2 separate regions of the Homo sapiens genome follow, and region 1 is linked to region 2. Evidence: promoter capture Hi-C in 16 types of primary human blood cells and fetal thymus (Javierre and others, 2016). All regions are on one chromosome and are shown on one strand. The core of a region is centred on a gene start or on the middle of the fragment in contact, and the rest is flanking DNA. Distances in the headings are between cores, read along the strand shown.

Region 1 (4,293 bases), core at 1,050-3,549, about 40 Mb before region 2:
TCATAAGATAGATACTATTGTTCCCTTTTTGCAGATGTGGAATACAACTAGTAATTGGTAGACGATGGATCTGAATTTAACTAGTCTGGATTCAGAACCCACACTCCTAGCCACTGTACTTTTCTGCAGCCCTTCAGTGCACTAAAAGGCAGAAATCTAACATAAGTAGGATAATTCTCCATCCTGAGTGATTGTTGAAAGCTTTTAAAAGCTTTGCTTAATCACTGGATCCCACAAAGGAAAATGCTGATTAAAGAACACACAGTACTTTAAAATGCATGTTTTTTCTATAAGGTAGACAAATGGGACTACAGTAAGCATACTCAGAAAGTACTCAGAATTAATGTTCATTTCTTCTGAGAAAATACTAGAAAGCTCTGTAAACCATTAATTCAATATTCTGAGACATGTTTATTACTGCTTTTTATGTTGTTGAAGTCTTATTAGAAATAGCCCAGGTGGTTTGATCATGATACAGTGCTACTTGAAAATATATCAAAGGTAAAAATTCTCTCAACTATACCTTGAATGTCTTTTTCCCTGTAGACTTCTGTAGAGAAGTACAATTGTGTTTTAAATGTCTATTTTGAACTTGATGGGATACCATTAATCTATATGTGGTTTGATGTGTAACTTACCTGATATTTTTGTTTTAACTTTTTAGGTCCACTATCCGAGCTTTGATCAAGAATTTTTCAATTGCTTCTTTTTTCCCTGCTTTCATCACACTGCTGTTTTTTCAGCATAATCGAACAGCTTATGACATTGTAGCAGGAACCATTGTGGTAAAAAGAAATGGGGTCAGATGATGCCCCCCAAAACCCTGATTTCCACACACTAAGACTAAATTATGTATCAAGGCCATCAGTATCCCTGGGTTACACTAATTGATGATTTAGAAATTAAAGCAGTCACTCCAGTGTGATGCAGGTGACTACTCTGAAAGTATTGATTATACTTGAATGCCAAAGAACTTGTCCAGAAGAAAAACCTGTTAAATTCAAGTATTAAAATTTTTAGATCAAAAAGGCAAATGATTTTATAAACAATGGACAATATATACTTTCTTAAGATCTAAGGTACTTTCTTAAGATCTAAGAATTTGCTGAAAGCATTTTCAGCTTTGAAATCTCCAAATGAAACTTTAAAATTTATTTTGGTTTATCCCAAAATAATGGAAAATGTCCAGTTGTGTTTTGTAAACACCTATGTAACTCATCTTTTAGTTTACACTTCCTGGGGAAATTGTCTTTGGTGTTTAGAGGAGGGAATGAGAACACAAATTGGATAATCCACTGTCTCCCATCCCAGGAGGTGGTGAGTTGGCTACAAGAGAAAGGGACAAGTGAGGCAGGCCTAGCAGTTCCCTTACCTGAAGTTTTCAAATCCATACTGCAGTTCCCTCTCGTAATGATGTAACTTTACAACTATTCTTAATGCTTGAACATGTATTTAGGGGCAAGTTTCTCATGATGATGAAAAAGTATCAAGTCATATTGCTATGTTAATTGGTTTTTTTTTTTAAAAGGTAAGTTAGTGATTACTGTTAATGGTGGGGGAGTAAGTTTTCACTGTAAATTGAACTTATAATTTATGTGCAAGTGTTTTCAGTGCCCTGAATCAAACTATAAATGTGGGGAGAAATCACCTCCATCAAACAGTTGCATATTTACTGTAAAAGTATTCCCAGTATGTGTGCAGCATGAAGAAAGTATTAGTGCTTCTCAGTGTTCTCAGTGTAAATTCTATTTATATACAGCATATTCACATACTACTTTCCTTATATTTTATATAGTTCTATGACTGTTGAAACATCAAGGAGTTAAAAAAATCTTAATATTTCATGATTAACTCTAAGTACTATTAATTAATAGCTTGCGAAATATTAGCAATTTTCCCATTATGGACTATTCTCTCTAAAGCAAGAGAGACTAGCATTCCCAGACATCATTCTAGGGTCTTTAAGCTCATTTTGGGTCTGCTAAAGTTTGGGGGGAAATGTTACGCAAAGTGATACTGTGTATGTTGCCATTTTGCTTTATTCTTCTGTTGAAGCAAAATTGTGGGGTTTTATTATGTGTGTGTGCTTTTCCTAGATGTCCCAGTTAGCTGTGCTGAGATATACCTGTACTATTTATGGTTTAAGTTTTGATTCTTAGGTATTTTCTCCAGCTCTGACATTGTTTTCCAAAGACACACTAAACTGCATTGCACAGTTCAAAATTTGATTACTTAAGGGATCAATCTAGGTGGTGTTCTTGGTCTTAAATTTAACAGCAAACACAGCACATATCTATTATCACTATATTAATTTTCAAAGGTTTTTCTTTGACGTTTAAAACTGTGACAACAGATATTCACATTTGATTATAGAAACTTAATGTCTATTAATAATTTTAGTACAAAATTTCATAAACCGTGTTTTTCAAAATAAGTTTATGTCAAATCCAGCTTCCCAGAAACACTAATAATTAAGTACATCAATGTACTAAATAAATCATTCAGTTGCACCCATGGGGAAGATTGTGTTACTGCCCTTCACAGTGAAAAAAAGAAAAATCTTTCATTTTTAAAATTAGGAGATGTTACGTAACTTGGCACTTTAGTAGTGTATACACTAGCATTAGTTTATACACCACTTTTGCCGCTGGGGAATTCAAGTTGAAATGTCCCTCAATCATATAGGTCTGGAATACATCTTTCATTCATAATTTCTGCTCAGATAATTGAATAGTTTGCCATCGAGATTATTTTCATTTATACTATAAAACAAAAGCAAACTAGTCCAGTTTAATTTTTTGTACTTAGAATATTGCACATTTTCTATATATGAGTTATTCAGATTAGTATCTATGTAGGTTCAGTCAGATCCAACCATGGATTCGAGGTATTATACTGTATAACCCTACAAAATACATAGAAGTATTATTTGCCTTCATAATAGAACCCAAGAGTCTGTTTCAATTTATGAATTCAGTATTTGCACCGAGATTTTGATTCCCAAAGTTTGGAAAAAAATGACAAAACAACGAGGGAAGAAGGAACCAGACCTTAGTGCCACATATTTTTCTCTTGGGGTTGTAAGGTAGTCTCCTGCTTTCCAGAACACTTTATTATATTTCACTTATAGACCTGATTTTCTGTGTCAAAGTATAATTCTCATGCTGAAGCTGTAGCCTAAAAAGCCAAAAGAAAGTTGTCTTCATTGTACAAACATATTCATCACTTTAACAATAAGGGAACAAAATTTAGTATTCAAGCTGAGTGAGAATACTGTTTCAATGAGCATGTCCCTAAGATAAACCAGAATTGGCAGTTAATTTAGGCGTCTAGAAAATCTCAGTTCCCACCAGTAAAATTATCCTGAGTAGCTAATGCACCTTGAGAAAAATCTGGCATACTGAATAAATAACATTAACTTGGGAGCCAAGAGCTGGGTAAGCCTTACCTTTAGACTACTCTGTGACTACAGAAATAAAGCCAGCACTTTTGGAACTAATAAGCCTTCACTTGTCAGTATCATAAAGAGTATTGCCCAACTGAACTTTGCTCCCACTGGTTTAATAGTTACTTATTTCTGCCTAAGCACTCACCTTCCGATTTTACCCAAGTATATATATAGGATAGAAAAAAATGCATTATATTTGAGAGCTACTTCGCCCAAATTACAAAATGAGTGTTTTTAGATTCAAGTGACAGTAAAAGGATTTGTTCCCTTCAGTGACTTGAGTGTTTTAGTTATGCATAAGTATTTCTAGCAAAGGAAGGGTAGAAAGGAATTGAAAATTAATTTACACTAGTTGCTACTTGGGAATAAAGGGCTTTTTGAGGGGGGTATGGATATTAAATGTTTTCGTTATATACTTATCCCTATTAAAACAGGCAGTTGTTTCTTTGAATATGCCTAAATAACAGTATTCTTAAAATCTGACAGACAAGTAACATGTCAATTACTTGATATTCCTTGTCTCCAGTACCACAGGCCACTCTTGACATCCCATGTTTGCCTGGATAAAGTTCCTCATTTCAAACAGTATACATACTTCTTTGCAGTTCATTATAGTAAGGCTTAACCTGTAAACAGTATCTGATGGCCCACCTATAAATAAAATTCAGCATTCTATTTTTAATAATTTGTATGCCACCAATTTGTATTATTTGTCTCAATAAATACTTAGTCATCAATGCATCTGTATTTTGTCTATTTCTTTGAGACAGTTTGCTCTAGAATCTGCTTAGGGAGACCTTGCCTCCAAATACAGGTTTTCCAGTGGGTTTAGCAGTAAACTAGAA
Region 2 (4,268 bases), core at 1,720-4,219:
TGAATTGTCAGTTTCCTTCATTTGGTATTACATATTTAATTCTTAAATATTGAGGCCCCATTGTGAGTAATAAAAAATACGACATAAGTAGAAGACTAAGAAGGGCTTGTCATATTATCTTTGTGTATATGCTTCATGTTATTTAACCAGAAATGTCTTATCTCTAAAAATTTTTAGTAGTAATTATTTACCAAACTTAAAAACATTTCTATAAATATAAAGCTTTTCTTTATATTTAAGACAAAATATAAAGGCTAGAATTTGGTTCCTTCTCTGTAACACTAAATATTTTAGTGTGAAATTGAATTTTTTTATTACTATAGTCTTTTCAATCTATAATTTGTGTTTTTAATTTCTTGATATGTCACTTCTGTTCCTCCCTGCTTGCATTTTTTAAAAACTAGACATTGTGGCTTGAGAATTTATCAATCATCTTTCCGAAATGACCACATTGTGCTTTTAGTTTGTATGTTTAAGTGGTCAAGCAAGGCTCTAGGAGGTAGTCACTGAGCTGGACCTTAAACACATCTGCAGGAGCTCACAAAATGGGAGCAAAAGAGGCATTCCAGAAAGAAGAGTAGTTAAGCAGATGTGGGGGCAGGGCAAGAGGAGACAGCACCTTGTTGCCAGAGATTCTACACAAAGGTGTGATGGACACTGATGCTCTATTAAGAAGCTTTTGTGGTGTGTGTGGTAGAGAATAATTAAGGCTTCTGATAAGACAGGAAAGGGATATTTCATCATGACTGTTAAGAAAAGGTAACTGGGTTGTTTAATGTTTTAATTGATAATTGTCACTGATCGTATTTCTACTTGTTAAATAATTAAAAATCATCTTAAAATTCATACTTTGACTTTAATTTAGACACAAGGAGATGTAATCGCTGTGTAACATCAGAGAAAGCTATATGGATTATCGTCAGAAGTAAATGTTTCTAACATTGACAAAGATGCTTATCTTTTCATTACATCATTCACTCATTAATTCATTCAATCACAAAATATTGAGTACCCACCATGTGCCAGCAACTGTTCTAAGCACTTGGAATATACCAGTAAGCAAAACAAAGCCCTTACCCCTCTGTGGAGCACATATTGGTGGAGAGGAGGGGATTGTACAATGTTAGTAAGCAAGGCAATAAAACTGCATATCTGATGGTGATACGTGTAACGACGGAAAATAAAGAAGGGAAGGGAATAAATAGTGCAGGGACAGGGAGTTGGGGGGAGGCTTGCTATTTTTAATAGGGTTGTCAGAAAAGATCTCACTGATAGGTAAACTTGAGCAAAGACCTGAAGAAGGTGAGGGAATGAGGATGAAAATACATATCGGGAAGAGAGTTCCAGGTGGAGGAGGTTAAGGTCCAGACAGGAGCTTAGTATATTCAAGGAAAAGCAAGAAGACTAGTATGGCTGACAGGATGAGCTAGGAGAGTAATAGGAAATGAACTTACTGAGGTTTTTCTAATGACCTGGGCTTTTACTTTGAGGTAAGGAGCCAGTGAAGGTTTCTGAGAATAAATGGTATGATCTGCCTTATTTAGGATTGCTGTAGTTGCTGCACTGAGATAACATGTACATGAGAGGCAAGAGTAGAAGCAGGGAGACCAGAGAGGAAGGTATTGTAGTATTCCAGGTGCAAACTCACCAGGTAGCTTGAACCAGAATGGTGGCGGTAGAATTGGGAAGAATCTGGATATATTCTGAAGGCAAAATTGATGGGGTTTACTAATGGTGTGGATCTAGGATAAGAGAGAAAAAGAGTTCAGGATGATTCTAAAGTCACTTGATAGACTTTCAAACCACTCACAAAATGTGTTTTGTTTTCGTTTGTGTCATGATAAAGTTATTTTTAATAAGGTCAAATAATCCCCTACCCCAAGAGTTAATTAGGATTTAAAATGAGTTCAGAGGGAATTGGGATCCAGCCTTAAGGGCTTCAACTCTGTTCAAGTATTTAAATGGCTTTGATCTCTGATTAAAGGTGGTGGCTCAGCTTTAAACTATTATTATCTATCATTTTCTGTGCCCTGTACATTGTCATCCTTGCAATGAGAGGCATAGAGCTATCAGGAGAGGGGACTAAAGCCTAACTTTTTAAGTAGACTAATCTTTGTATCCTCAGCTCTATTCCGTCTTTTACCGACAGCTGGTGCCTGACCTAGAGGCCTACTGCATCTTTTTTGTTAACAGGATTTTTAAAAGTTGAGGACTTTTTAATGCCAATTATTTCACTCAGAATATTTATTTATTTATTTATTTTTTTGAGACAAGGTCTCGCTCTATCGCCCAGGCTGGAGTGCAGTGGCGAGATCTCGGCTCGCTCAACAGGAATAATTTTAATAGCAAAAATTTAAAACCCCTTCATTAAGCCAGGCGTGGTGGTTCACATCTGTAATCCCAGCACTTTGGGAGGCTGAGGTGGGAGGACCGCTTGAACCCGGGAGGTCGAGGCTGCAGTAAGTCGTGATCGCGCCACTACACTCCAACGTGGGCGACAGTTAGACCCCATCTCAAAAACAAAAGAAAATTAGAATGGTAAAAATGAAGTAAATTCACTTTGCTTCCCACATCTAGCTAGACAGGGAAAGATGGAGTAGCTTTTTCTTTTTTACTTCATAGCTTCAGTGTTGTCCGGGCTTTCATTACTCTCATCTCAGTATAAAGTGGTAACAGGAAGGTCAGGTGAGTGTGGGCTGCCTACGAGCTGTACTTACTGCCTTCTGTTTCACAAAAGGACGTTTTCTCCCCATAATGTCGTTGTTCTTGCTTTGAATTATGGGTGCTGGGAGAAACTAAACGAAGCCGTCACTGAGCAATACACCCACAGCCCGTCGACCGATAGGAACCTTCGCGTGGGGGGAGTTGGTTACTTTTAGGTTGCATGAAGAGGCGGGGCCTCGCGGGGCGGAGCTGGGGGTGGTCTGTGGGTCCGCGCGGGCTTCGGGTAGTTCCTGGGTCCGGGGAGCAGACGATCCGCTAGCCACATTAGGCGCTCGGTCTCTGCGTCCGCCCCTCCCGTGCCTCAGAGACTTGCGCTCCCCAGGCCCGAGCCCCTGTCGGCCCATCCTCGAGCCCGTGTGGCTCGCGAACCTCTAACTCCAGCCGCTGCAGCCCCCTCCCAGGCCCGGCGTCCCCGAGCCCCGCGGGCGCCGCGCCTGCCCTTCTTTGGCTACGCTGCAGCCGCGGTGTCGGCGAGTCCTCCCGGGTTGCCCCCGCGGGCGTCAGAGGGAGGGCGGGCGCCCGCGTGGTGACGGCGACGCCTGCAGCCCAAGGAGCGCTCCACTCGCTGCCGCCGGAGGGGCCGGTGACCTCTTGGCTACCCCGCGTCGGAGGCTTAGATGGCTCAGGCGAAGATCAACGCTAAAGCCAACGAGGGGCGCTTCTGCCGCTCCTCCTCCATGGCTGACCGCTCCAGCCGCCTGCTGGAGAGCCTGGACCAGCTGGAGCTCAGGTGAGCTCCGGGCGGGCGGTCTCGGGCGTTCTGCTCGCCGCGCGGGCGGTTCGCGGGCGGTTAGCGGACGGAGGCCGCGTGTGGCGGGCCGGGGCCTGGGGCACAGTGAGGCTGCGGCAACCGAAGTTGCTTGTTGAGATTTGTTGTGGATGGACGTGGTGTAGTTTTGTTTGTTTCTTGGATTATCTCCCCTAGTCCGAGAGAAAACGCATTCGATTTAAGCTAAACCTGTGAGGGCGTTATCGGTGGCCACACTTTGATTAATTTACCTAGGTGTTAGGGAGCGGAAAAAAATCAGAGGAGATAAAAGTTACAGTGAGATTCCATGCGATTAAGGACTGTGGCAGCTTGGGTCTGCAGAACTTCTAGAACCTTCTGTGTGGCCCCAAACGTTTTAACTTACTCTTCTCGTTATGCATTTTTTAAGGGAGGCAGCAGTTTACAGTGGCCCTCCACGTGAAGTTAAGTTTCCTTGCTTCAGAACAAAAATGAATAAAACAAAACCAACCCAGCAATCCATTGAGAGCAAAGATTAGACAGGAGTGAGGGGTAGGCAGTAAGTTACCGGGTGCTTCGTGCAGCAGAGACGTTGCCGCTTCTGTTTCTCCCCTAACCTCGCGGACGGGATTCAGCGGTTCCGTTCGTCTCTCGGTATTTATTGGGCACCTCCCTACATAGAAGACTAAGTGCTAGTTACTGGCCTGAAAGCATGAAAAGATAGTTTTCCCCTTTTCTTGCTTAAGAATTTATTTGGTAATACAGTAGTAGACTTGTATAGAATTTCTAAACAATTTAATGTTAATAGATTTTTGGA

Evidence for each region. The method cuts DNA at HindIII sites, captures the fragments that hold promoters and counts their contacts. A CHiCAGO score of 5 or more calls a contact.
Region 1: a contact is called between a fragment that was not itself captured here and the fragment with the promoter of BAG2 in region 2, in 1 of 17 cell types (activated CD4 T cells). The highest score is 5.7, in activated CD4 T cells.

The regions. Positions count from the first base shown.
Region 1 is chr6:17,607,531-17,611,823 of GRCh38, forward strand. It overlaps FAM8A1 (family with sequence similarity 8 member A1), which reads left to right. Exons shown (of 5, transcript NM_016255.3): 5 at 665-4,185. The coding sequence ends at 809. Among named protein-coding and RNA genes, the nearest start is that of FAM8A1, 9.4 kb to the left of the region's middle. RefSeq lists a silencer at 3,094-3,294. The HindIII fragment of the contact is 4,181 bases long and covers 210-4,293 here.
Region 2 is chr6:57,169,357-57,173,624 of GRCh38, forward strand. BAG2 (BAG cochaperone 2) reads left to right here and starts at 2,970. Exons shown (of 3, transcript NM_004282.4): 1 at 2,970-3,454. The coding sequence starts at 3,342. ZNF451-AS1 (ZNF451 regulatory antisense RNA 1) reads right to left here and starts at 2,857. Exons shown (of 4, transcript NR_110742.1): 1 at 2,718-2,857; 2 at 1,649-1,742. It overlaps ZNF451 (zinc finger protein 451), which reads left to right. Exons shown (of 15, transcript NM_001031623.3): 15 at 1-949. RefSeq lists silencers at 2,983-3,062, 3,113-3,382 and an enhancer at 3,117-3,874. The HindIII fragment of the contact is 6,211 bases long and covers 675-4,268 here.